Regions from separate parts of the Homo sapiens genome. Here all the other regions are linked to region 2. The links are contacts of gene promoters, found by promoter capture Hi-C in blood cells and fetal thymus (Javierre and others, 2016). All regions are on one chromosome and are shown on one strand. The core of a region is centred on a gene start or on the middle of the fragment in contact, and the rest is flanking DNA. Distances in the headings are between cores, read along the strand shown.

The links. Contacts are between HindIII fragments. The CHiCAGO score rates a contact against its expected background, and 5 or more counts as called.
Region 1: a contact is called between the fragment with the promoter of RAB5A here and the fragment with the promoter of CCDC174 in region 2, in 1 of 17 cell types (fetal thymus). The highest score is 6.2, in fetal thymus.
Region 3: a contact is called between a fragment that was not itself captured here and the fragment with the promoter of CCDC174 in region 2, in 1 of 17 cell types (monocytes). The highest score is 5.2, in monocytes.

Annotation. Positions count from the first base shown.
Region 1 is chr3:19,944,911-19,949,134 of GRCh38, reverse strand. RAB5A (RAB5A, member RAS oncogene family) reads right to left here and starts at 2,038. Exons shown (of 6, transcript NM_004162.5): 1 at 1,614-2,038. It also overlaps a transcript of EFHB not described here. RefSeq lists enhancers at 754-1,353, 1,400-1,449, 1,970-2,019, 1,881-2,050, 1,976-2,145 and 1 more. The HindIII fragment of the contact is 3,439 bases long and covers 1,651-4,224 here.
Region 2 is chr3:14,649,647-14,653,832 of GRCh38, reverse strand. CCDC174 (coiled-coil domain containing 174) reads right to left here and starts at 2,071. Exons shown (of 11, transcript NM_016474.5): 1 at 1,955-2,071. The coding sequence starts at 1,996. LOC124909347 (a long non-coding RNA gene) reads left to right here and starts at 1,712. Exons shown (of 2, transcript XR_007095826.1): 1 at 1,712-2,164; 2 at 2,607-4,186. RefSeq lists enhancers at 1,759-1,828, 1,969-2,368, 1,872-2,530. The HindIII fragment of the contact is 1,793 bases long and covers 507-2,299 here.
Region 3 is chr3:9,397,570-9,401,668 of GRCh38, reverse strand. It overlaps SETD5 (SET domain containing 5), which reads right to left and starts at 4,054. Exons shown (of 23, transcript NM_001080517.3): 1 at 3,692-4,054. RefSeq lists an enhancer at 3,187-3,236 and a silencer at 3,847-4,099. The HindIII fragment of the contact is 571 bases long and covers 1,135-1,705 here.

The DNA.
Region 1 (4,224 bases), core at 789-3,288, 5.3 Mb before region 2:
AGATTTAGGGGTGTAATCCTGGCTATACCAATTTCCGTCTGGGCAAACTCTTTAATTTCCAAGTTTCTATTCCCATAATATCTAACTTGCATAGCTGATGTGACAATTAAATAAAACAATACATGTAAACAATCTCTAATATACATAGTAGGGATTGAAATTGCCAATAATGTGCTCCTTTGATAAGAAAATGATAAAATATCAATAGAACATCATATATACTGAAAATGCACCAATACATCTTCAGATATTACACACAATCAAAACATTTTCCATTTGTCTTTTTATTTAAGAAAACAAGAAATTACTTATCAAGGACAATATGCTCCAAATTTCTACGGCACTTCCAAAATTTTAGGGAAAATATCAGACTCCCATTAAAAAAAAAAATCAAACAAGATTCTGATTTCACTTTGACTTTTAAGGTTTAAAGCTACTTAATTGTGGCTACTCCCCCTAAGGATCTCAAACAGGAAATAACTAAAGTTAATGGTAAATATACACTTAGCATAACACTAAGGTTAAAAATTACGTGCATTCATTTGTATTCACTGCTTACTGAAACTTCTGTTTTGCAAAACAAGAATTTTGCATAATATACATTTGTAATCTTTTGAAAATAACTGTTATTCATTCTATAGTTAAAATCCTTCTAAGGGTTCTTTGATCAAAAAATTGACTGGGCACTTATTTTGTGCCAGGCACTGTTCCATTTACTTTGTTTATACAAATGCTGAGTTATCACTTCCATTTTACTTTAGGAATAAAGTTTATGAGCAGTCTTGAGTATTCCCAGAGGTGTACAAGTGTTTTTTTCTTATTATGTGAAAGGCAACTGATTGAACGCTTTGATTCCATTTAAGCAAGACAAAAACCAAGTATGTGAACTATGACGTTCAGAACTTAACAAGTTTGAAAGTCTCAGAGGTAAGCAGCTTCCAGGGAAGATAACGCCAGAGCAAGTTCCATGGTCTCTACCCAGTGAAGGAGTTCAGCGGTCCTGTTATCTTGAATTTATTTAACGCTGTAGTTCACTACCTTCCAAACAGAAAACAAGTCTCTAGACAGCCTATTTTGACGAGCCTCCCACCCACCGACACTACTCATCTTTGGAAGTTGAAGATAGGCGGAGCTCCCCACATTGACACCTGCAGTAGGCCCAGGTTCCTGCTTGGAGAGCACCTGAGTAGCTAATAGCCAACTACAGATCGCCTGGATAAGCAGCACTCGCCAGGTCCCTTGGCCTTTCCAACCTCCTCCCCCGAACCTGCCTTGCTTTGACCGAGACCCCCAGGACTGCCAGGACGGAGACCAGGCGGAACCGCGGCCTCCAGTACACTTTCCACGGCGCCATCTTGAGAAGGGAAAGGGTGACACCCGTCGCTCCCTCAGTCAGTCCCCAAATCCCGGTCTCCAGAGCCCCTGGAGGATGAGTCACCAGGGCTGGCAGAACAAGACGCCGGGTTCGATAGTTCTCTGGTCCAGGGCACTGCTGCGCGTGAGGGAGAAGGGGTGGGGGGTCTCAGTACCGGCAGGGCCGCGGACAGGCTGGGGACCGCGGATAACCTGGGGTCCAGGCCCCCGCTGCGCAGGAGGAGGGGCGGTTCGGTTACCTGAGACCGCAGCAAGCCGAGCTGCGGGGCCGAAGCTTCCTGGCAGCAAGGCCCAGGCGTGGCCCGTAGGATGAGAGTGTATCTATGGCGGTGGTGGTGGCGGCGGCGGCGTCGCCTGCTCTTAGCGCCGCTCCCCTCACACTGGACTGTGCGGGGCTCGTGCCGTGGTGCCGCCCCTGTCGGGCTCCGTCTCCGCCTCTCGCCGCTCCCCCTTCCTCTTTCCTTTCTCCTCCTCCGCCGCCGCCGCCGCCGCCGGCGCTGGAGTTCCGACTAATTCTTCCTCCTCCTCCTCCCTCTGCCTCCTCCCCTAAGGCCAGCCGCCGGCTCCTTCACGAACCAAAACACAAACACTCAAGTCCCACCGCCGGAGCCACTTCCGCTGCCCGGTGCCGGCCCCGCCGCCACGTCGCTGCACGCAGCGAACTGCGCCACTTCGTCACTTCCCATCATCGCCAGTCCGCCTGCTCCTTCCGCTTCCTCGCCCCTTCCCGAATCCCTCCCCGCCTAGGTTTGTTCGCGGGGCGGGGCGAGGCAGGATGTCACGTGACCCTGCGAGTGGCTCAGATCCGAACTGGCCGCCTTTCTCCCCTTCCCCCACCCCAGGTACGCGCGGCCACGCCCTCTCCAGCGCCATTGTTATTTAGGCTGGGGGGTCTCTGGGCTCCTGGCGGCCGGGGTCGGGGGAAATTCCTTTACTATTCTTTGGGGGAAGATCAAAATAACTTGTGTTTTTTTGTTTGTTTTTTGTGCCCAGCCCTTGTGGGAGCGGCGAGGTTCCCTAACCCCAATCCTGGCATCTCGGCTAAGGGGCTTTATTAGAGGGAACTTGTCTAGCACGAGAGAACCTCCTCCCACAAAATGGCCCTGGGGTTGGGTAGGTCGGTAAAGGCTGCTAAATCGCATTTACCCCAAGGAGGAAGAAAGGACCCTCCCTATCCCAAAAGCCGCCTTTAGGCGCCTGACAATAAGAAGTCGCTTCTGTTAAGAGTTTACGTGGTTTTGGTAGGGGGCGGGGAAGGCCAAATCCTAAAATAGTGTCTGCCTTTTATTCAGAATTTCCCTTCGCTCTTTACTGTACTAAACGCTTTACAGGAATTATCCCATTGAATTCTTACACTCGAGTCTTTCATTCTGAAACTAACTTGTTAATCGTCTGTTCCCTACATTCGAATTTTAGCTCCCCTTGGTGGTCCTCACCGCTGTAAATCTATGTCTAGCCCAGTGCCTGGCAGCCAAGTCTTCAGTTCTAGTTGTAGATGTTTTATAGGTAAAGAATTTGAGACACAAGAGATTGAGTAACTTGTCCGAGATCACGGCTGTGTGGTGCAGAAGCTGGATTCTGATCTGCGGCGGGTTGGCTCCAGAACGTGAGTTGTTGAACACAATTCTGGTGAAAGACAACCCAAGATGTTCGTTACCCTCCACGGGGGACCTACTGAAGATGTGCTGCTTTAGTTGAATCCCACACCACATTCAGTCTCTGGCGAGGCTTCAGCCACCACCCCCTCCCCAGCCTCCGCCAAAAAAATTGTTTTGATAATTTAGTGGAAGAATATTAAATTGATTTTCCTTCAGAATAAAGGCTACTTTTCAGTTTGCAGTTTACAATGTATAGCTCTGTTGTAAGGGCGAGAATATTGTCTTTGAAGTGTACCGGGTTAAGGTATCTTATGGGCGTACAGTCGGCGGCATTGTGCAATTAAGATGATTTGAACTTTGAACAGCCCGTCTTTCAGATCAACTACCTAGTTGCCAGAAGAACGTAATGTGTCATACGTAAATGATACCTGTGGCATTTTATTCTCAAGGAGTTGTTCAATATGAACTATTAATCATGGTAATAGCTCTGGGACAATCCCAGGAGGAGTCAGGAAATAGGATATGTGACATCAGTTTTGTCATGTCAACAGTATGCCCAAAACGAAACCTATTCCACTCCAAACCTGCTTCTGCTTAGAGACTGGCATTAACATCCTCCCAGTCACCCAGACTTGGAACTGCAGAATCAGCTTCACCTCTTTCTTCTCCTCACAAACCATTGTCCATTCTATCAACAAATTATCTAATCCCCAAATTTGAAGTCTAATCCCAACACCTGGTCCATGGTAGTGTTTATATAAACTGAAATTAATGCATACTGCTGTTCTTTCTGTCCATTCTTTACATTTTAGCCACTCTACTAAAAAATGTTCAATGCTATGTCATTACTTGACAGTCTAAAGTTCTTTAACTCTAGTCCCAACCCAAGTTTCTTTCATTCTATTTCTATAGAATTCCTCTCCCCATACTCTTTATTTGTTCCCTGATCACACGTATCTGGTCTGTGTTCCCTGAATATTGCCTGTGTGTTGCCATCTTGGTATCTGATCACTTTATTTTCTCCACATGGAACACTATCATTGCCCATAACTGCTGGCTCCGTCTTAGCCAGGACACCAGTTCCTTTGGACCGCATCTGCAGATACTTCTACTGGATTCAATTATTATTTTTTCTGTAATTTCACAATACTTTGCCTTACTCTGTATAATGGCTGTCTTAAAATCTGCCTTATTTTAATAGCTAATGAGCACCTGGACTTTTCTCCTTAGCCTTTCATTGAATTATAAGGTT
Region 2 (4,186 bases), core at 822-3,321:
GCAGAGCCTTTAAAGACACATTATTTCAACAGCTAGAAATAAAATAGACTGGGTGAATTATAACAGCTCCACGTTTGACTTAATCCATTTCAAAAACCGTAAGCTTGGCTGAATCACACGGTTCAAGAACAGGAAAGAAGGCCAAGGCATAGGGAGTGGGGCAGTTGGGTGAATATTAGTACCTTTCCCTCAGCTACATTAATTACCCCTGCCTACTCTGCAAAAAAGGATATAACAACAGTTTCCTTTTTAATGGTCCAGGTACAGCTGCTTATATGGATGGGCATTTGTAAATCAGATACTTCATCACTGTCTTAATCATCAGATACTTAAAAAAATCACTTTATTTGTTAAGGAAGATAAAAATGGCTGGGTTCAATTTCCGTTTTGGAAGAAATCGATTTAAAAGGTAACCATTTAATAATGCAAAGGGCAGTTTCACTGCAGACCCTAATACTGGAAATTTTTAAAAACAAATGAAAAACTTCTACTTTTTCTTCTAAGCTTACTTAACCACACCAAATTTTCCAGCCACATATCTTCCTAGTCTACAACTGCCTTTAACTTTAAGAGATGCTCAAAAAAATGTAAATTCTCAAATAGCATTCTTATTACAATTACTGCTAACCTGTCAGTATAGGTTGGCTTTAATATTTATAGCTTTCTGGTTCCTGATCTTCAAACAAAATAATAACTGGTACCAATTTTAACCAATAATAGTTACCAATAATAACTAGTACTCAAATATTGGGACACCTATATGTTTTCCTTCCTACTCACTTTGTGTCCTAATACTCTGAAGTAAATTCAAGATTAAATCAAAGGTTGGGCAATTTGCTCTGATGATGAAAAGGCAGCAGCTTTGGAGTCAAGTAGAGTGAGTGAGAAAGGGTCTATCACTAAGATTTCTTCCCCCCGCCCCCCGCCCCTTAGACGGAGTTTCGCTCTTGTTGCCCAGGTTGGAGTGCAATTGCGCGATCTCGGCTCACCGCAACCTCCGCCTCCCCGGTTCAAGCGATTCTCCTGCCTCAGCTTCCCGAGTAGCTGGGATTACAGGCGTGCACCACCACGCCCGGCTAATTTTTTTATTTTTAGTAGAGACGGGGTTTCTCCATGTTGGTCAGACTGGTCTCAAACTCCCGACCTCAGGTGATCTGCCCGCCTCAGCCTCCCAAAGTGTTGGGATTACAGGCGTGAGTCACCGCGCCCGGCTATCACTAAGATTTCTGTCTGTAAGCTGGGGAAAGCTACTTCATCTTTCCAGGCCTCAATTTCATCATCCATAAAACGGAGATATTAATAGCACCTACCTCCTAAAGCCATTGGGAGGATTCAATGAGATAGTGCATATAAAGTGCTGGCACAAAATGTGTACTTAGAACAAGTTTTCTTTCTAGAGTAGCTGATGTAATAAATCTGCTTACATCCTTTCAGACCTCACAACTCCCTATGCCTGCATTAACAACTGTTTAGTTCCAGGGAGGGCACGCTGGACACTTTCGGGTCCTGCGAAATATGTCACACTCTAAAGTTCTGGGAGGACTTTGTGGGTCCCTGGATGGAGGAGAAACCAGGAAGAGGATATGTCTGCATAGCAAAAAGAAGCTAGGGTTCCTCCTGACTGTAAGGGAGAAGGCTGACGAGGTGCAGGTCCTTGTGGGCAGGGCAGAGGTGAGGCACGGAGTTTCCTAACCCACGGGACACCAGGTTCAGATCCGTGTCCGAGGGTTCTGGCCCGGGCGCATGTCAGAGGAGAGTAGCCCAATTCAGGGTCCTGTAAGAAAACTGAACCGGATCCCCGCCGGAGAAGAAAATCCAGTTCGGGGGTTCCTGTTTGAGGGGAGAGGTCAGGTCTCTGGGTCCCCGAGTGAAGAAACAAGCTAGGTCGACATTCTTGTCTGATGGAGACACGGTGAACCCGGAGCCCGTGGAGTTACCTCATACCCTCACTCACCGAGGAGGCCGTGACGTCCAAAGGCTTTTTCCTACGGTCCATGGTCGTGGCAGAGGGTCCCGGTCCAGGAAGGACCCTTTCTACCCGACACAGGCCTCGTAAGCCTACCTCCGTCGCAACCGGAAGTGTCTTCGACAGCGACACTGAGTTTGCGTGAGTTTGCGACGCGAGTTTGTCAGCTCAGCGCCATCTTGAGAAGGTCAGAGTGTGGTGCGTATTACGTTCACCATCATTTTGGAAAGGTCATAGAGTGCGGAGGTTGACGCTAACTGCTAAGGTCATCTTGAGGGCGGAAGGTAACAAGGATTGGTGTGGGCGCCATCTTGAGAAGGGCGGAATAAAGCTTTTGATTGCGATGGACGCCATATTGGGTGGGGCGGATGTGGGGTTGGCGACAAAGATAACGCCATCTTGGGGAAGGCTGACGCTTAAGTAAGTGAACTCGAGCGTCTCGGGAAAGGTGGATTGGGAGGACCGGAAGAATCTTAACTGCAATTCCAGGACCTGCTGCCTGGCACTTTTCACACGTTAAATAGTTGGTTCTTAAAAGAGCGTACGAGATAAGGATTATTATATTAATCTTAGTAGAAATAACAAGAATAATAGCTAACATTAATGTAGTGCTTATTATGGGCCACTTTACATATTTCAGCTCTTAAGAACGTGAACTCCTGGGCCGGGCGCGGTGGCTCACGCCTGTAATCCCAGCACTTTGGGAGGCTGAGGCGGGTGGATCAGGAGGTCAGGAGTTTGAGACCAGCCTGACCAACATGGTGAAACCCCGTCTCTGCTGAAAATACAAGAAAAAAAAAAAATTAGCCGAGCGTGGTGGTGCGCGCCTGTATTCCCAGCTACTCAGGAGGCTGAGGCAGAAGAATCGCTTGAACCTGGGAGGTGGAGGTTGCAGTGAGTCGAGATCAAAAAAAAAAAAAACAAAGAACACGTGAACTCGAAAGCTGACTTTCTGGGTTGGAATCGCTCTTCACGGCTTACTGCTTGTGTGACCTTGGGCAAGTTACTTAACTTCCGTGTGCCTCAGTTTCCAAAGGGGGATATAATTTTATTTACCTAATGGGTCTTAGTGAGGATTAGATGAGTTAAATGAGCTAGTCTTGATAAAAATGTTAATGATTATGGTAGACAGACCAATCACCCTCACCCCGACTCCCAGATGTCTACCTTCTAATCCCCAGAATCTGGGTATATGGTGACCTTTATATAGCAAAAGAGAATTGGCAGAGATGATGAAATTAAAGCGATTGAGATGGGGAGCTAGCCTGGATTGTGCAGGTGGGTCCCCTATCATCAAAACCATCCTTATAAGGGGTAGACAGGATGGCCAGAGTCAGACAGAGATCAGAGATGCTTTGAAGAGGGAGAGTGGGACCACATGCCTAGGTATGCAGGAGGCCGCTAGAAAAAGCAAAGAAATGAGCCCTCCTCCAGAGTCTCCAGAAGGAATGCAGCATTGCTGACACGGTGATTTTAGTCTTGTAACACTCATCTCAAACTTCTGACTTCCAGAACTCTACCAGAATACGTTTGTGTTGTTTTAAGCCACCAAACTTGTGGCAATTTGTTACAGCAGCAAGACGAAAGTGATCATAATGATTGTAACAGTGGCATTTAGTATATGTGGGGCATGTGTATGACTCTTTGCATAGATTATATTATATAATCCTTGCAAGAATCCTAGAAGCGGACCTATTATCCACCATATTAGAGAGAAGAAAAATGAGACTCATCACATCCTCATCTCATCTGTCTTTATGGAGAAAATGGGAAAAGGGAAAAGGAGAGGGGAATTGAGGCAGTTGACTGTGTTCAGTCTTATTTATTTATTTTCATTTGTTTATTTCTCCAAGTCCGCCAGTCTCTGAAATTAGAACAGTAAGCAATATGAGATAATCGGGCCTAATAATGTTGTGATTCTCTTTTCTTAATGGAGTGGAATGTTCTGTCCCCACAAGAAGGATTATACCTTATAGACTTGTCTTGTTCAGATTCTGTATTTACCCATTTTACTGAAACACATACTAAATTCCATGTGTTTTTGTTACAAATCTTCTGAAAGAAAATGTGAAACATTAAAAGGTATTAATAATAATTTTTTTTAAAAGGAAAAAAAATGAGGCTCAGTTGCTTAAATGGCATGCCAGGGGTCATTTCCCAGCTAGCAAGTGAAGGAGCCTTCAGTTAAAAAATAACTCAAAGACATTGAGTTAATTATTG
Region 3 (4,099 bases), core at 171-2,670, 5.3 Mb after region 2:
TTAACTATGGCCTAATTTTTCATAAGTTATTTCAACATGGAGAGGATAAAGCAAAAGTAATTATCTGCAAATCTGTACTTTGCACTTTATTATTTCCCCATTCAAAGGTAAAAATGAAATAGTCATTCTCCCCAGAAAAGCCAGAATAATTTCAGAAAGTCAGTTCCTGGACACAAAACAGTATCAAAAGATATAAAAAAGTTTTCAAGGGTATAACTTAAGTAAATCCTTCTATGAAAAGGGCCTGTATGATCCTCTAAAAAATGATAATATCAAGAGCACAAAAGGTTCCAAACAACAGGAAATTCGAGTGTAAAAGCAATTATTTTATATAGCAACTTAAGCCACAGAGTAAAAAACTACAAACATTTTTATCTTAAACCCTAAGTATGTCAAACAGCCAGTATACATGAAATCATATTTATCTGCTATTGCATCTTATCTATGTGATAGTAATAAGAATTGGAACCTCCTAAAATAGTATCCATTAAAGGTTCTGTTTCATTGGTCTGCTTTTATTACTGGGAAAACAATGTGAGCCACATTTGTGAATGACAAAACTCATTTCCATTCTTTTTGGTTCTCTGCCACAAATGCCAGAGTGATACTACAAATTATAGATGTTTGTGAGATTTAAGTACATTTACACGAAAATGAACAAATCAAAATTCTGAGAGAAAAAAGTATAGGATACACGAGTCTTGGGGAAGAAAAACAGCACACAGGAATATGTCCAGTATTGCATATAATTGGTGGTGGTGGTTCTCCTTCAAGTTTTTCCACGCTCAGACTGTTTTGCTTAATCAGAGATCATCCTAATGTTCAGGAGTTGTGGGGGAGGGGAGATCACCTAAGGGGCTCAGAGGCCATCTTCTCAGTATCCTGAACTAGACTTATTCGATTTCTGCATATTTCTTCTGGTCTGTCCTACATTTCAGATGGATTATGGCCAAAGACATATATTTGTGATGTCAGAAGGCTATATCCAACATGTATATAATGAATCAATCTTATAAGTCAAACTCCAAAGAAAATATCTAATCTGGAGAAGTTTATTACTAATATACAAATTAAAAATATTTATTTAGAAACCACTCCAAAATGGCACCTTTTTAGAGTTTAAGAGTTCAAGCTTAGTAAAATGTTTAGCAAATCGTCTATAAGGTAAATGTGGTCTAATCGAAAGGATGGAGACACATAACAAAATAATAAGAATTGATTCTATGATTAAAGAGATGGAGGAAGGCATGATATGTGAGCTGCAGGAAAAAATTCCTGTTATTTTCTTCCTATTGTGGTTATCAGAAAGATTCTTAAAATTATTACTTGGGTTTTTAAACTGATTGAAAAATTAAAACTCTAATGGAACTTTTAGTCCTATCCAAGCACAAATGTCTAGATAAAAAACAAAAATCTGCCAAAAAACAAAAATCAAATCAAACAAACAAAAAAAGAAAGGCTTTAACCATGATCCAGTTTCCAGATGCCAATATCCATAAATGGGTAGGAGATTATGAATTACTAATTCCCATCTCCCCACCAATAAAAAGCAAACCAGCTCAGCAGTGAAAATTCCCAGAAAAGCAAGGTTTCTTCTTAGTCCTGAAGCAGCCATCGCCTAAGTGCTGCTCCCTGCAGCCAGCAGCATTAATGGACGCTGCACTGCTGTCCTTCCCTGGAGACAGCAGCCAGCACTACTCAAGCTTCTCACGTAGCAACCAGAGCTCCAGAGCCAGCAGCTGCTGCTGCCTTGTATACTCACCCCTGTGATCCAACCCAAAGGAACAACCTTCTCTTTACCCCACCCCCACTCCTTACACACACTTTTTTTTTTTTTTTTTGGACCAGTGCTCCATGCCAGAAGGGCTGGAATTATGCTTTTAAGAAAGAAACAATCCTAAGGTCACCCTTTTAAACCAAGGCCTTTTATTAGAAAAATCAACATTTACCAAATTCTAAATATCCATTTTAATTAAGCCAGCAGTTTAGGAGTGAAGATTAAGCTTTGGTCTTTTGAAAGCCAATTTCCCAAGCACTCTACAATCTAATTTAAATTTGCAGCTAGAAACAGAGCCTTGTGTCATGTCCTACCAAAGGGCATAATTCATTTTTCTACACATAATGACAGTCTGAGTAAACCTTAAAGACTCTAATCCCATAACAGGCCAGAATTTTTGGCTACAGAAGAGAACTAATGATCCTGAGAAAACTGGAAGAAATCCAATAGAAAAAAAAAAGCCCTACGTCCTCTATGGAGCCCAGAAACCTCTGATTACGTGGGTATTCTCTGCTTTAGTCCTAGCTCAGATCCCACACATCTAAAATTACCACTTAGAACTTTCTGTGACCTAAAAACATTAATAATATAAAATTAACAACCAAAAAATAATTTCAAATAGGGAGTACACACTCTCCTAAAAAGCTCAGCACACTCCACTCAGCTGGATCCTCCCCAATCACAAGTATAGCTATGTAACATCTGTCCAACAAAGAAATGTAAATATGACCTTGGTCACAAATATGTCATCTAAAAACTTGTTTAGTCAACTGATGAAGGTAATTAGCACAGAACTTGGGGATTCGTTCAGTACCTATGTGCAGGAAGGAAACTGGAGAAATGAACTTAAATATAGACAAAGCCCAGTGGAACCCAGAGGTCTGGGAAAGAAATGAGTTACCGGTGAATACATTGCACAAGTAACATGAGAAAGCAGAAAATGCAGGTCATACACGCACCCCTGACCCAGACCAGCAGAGCTGACTGCAGCATCCATATCCAAGAGAAAGACCACTGACGCCCAAGAAGTGAGACAAGCAAGGACTCTATAGAATCAATTAGCATAGAAGGGGCTTTCCCAACAGTTTAACTTTCCCTCTCATGCGATTTACCTACTTGAACCAGGGCTCTTTCCTACACTCCTCTTCACATTCCCGACTTACACGCAGAGGGAAAGAGAATTCATAAAGGGAATATTTTTCTGCCTTTGAAGATATTCTCACAAGATCGTTCTCCACGCCCAAGGCAAGTAAAACGACACAATCTGGCTCAACTCCAGGCTCGAACCCTACACATTCAACGAGGCTATCTCAGACACGCTGTGGCACACGCCACGGGGAGCCAGAGAACGTGTGGTGGGGGTGGCGAAGGTAATGCCTTTGGGAAGCAGCCATCTGAGGTGGGAAGCCAGAAAACGAGAGGGAAGGCGTCCAGGAAGATTACGGAGGGGAGATCGCGGCCCCCAGAGCGATCAGAGTTGTCTGTCACAAGGCCGCGAGAACGGGGGTAGGGAGTGGGGGATCGGGGAGAGAAAAAAAGTATGCCTGTGTATTTCGAGCGGAGGGCAGCAAGAGGCCTCTCCTCAAGGGAAAGGTAAACGTGGAGTAGGCAGTTCCCAGGAAAGGGGGTGAAGAGGCGTTGGGGGAGGGGAAGCGTCCTGACCCAGGAAAAACATGAAAGGGGGAGTTGGGTCGCCTAGATTAGAGGGGGATCTCTCTCCCTGGGAAAATGGGGTGTTGCAACGGTGTGTGCAAGGCGGCGAGGGGGGTGAGAAGTGGCAGCATCCTCCTAAGAGCTTGGGGAGGGCCAGGCCCACGACCCAAGGAGAGCGAGCGCGGGGAGACGGAGGAGGTGACCCTTCCCTCCCCTGGGGCCCGATCGTGAGGTTCGGTCTCTTTTCTGTCGGACCCTTACCTTGTCCCAGGCGCTGCCGGGGCCTGGGCCCGGGCTGCGGCGCACGGCACTCCCGGGAGGCGGCAGGACTCGAGTTAGGCCCAACGCGGCGCCACGGCGTTTCCTGGCCGGGAATGGCCCGTACCCGTGAGGTGGGGGTGGGGGGCAGAAAGGCGGAGCGAGCCAAAGGCGGGGAGGGGGGGCAGGGCCAGGGAAAGAGGGGGGCCGGCACTACTGTGTTGGCGGACTGGCGGGACTGGGGCTGCGTGAGTCTCTGAGCGCAGGCGGGCGGCGGCCGCCCCTCCCCCGGCAGCGGCGGCGGCGGCGGCGGCGGCGGCGGCGGCGGCAGCTCACTCAGCCCGCTGCCCGAGCGGAAACGCCACTGACCGCACGGGGATTCCCAGCGCCGGCGCCAGGGGCACCCGGGAC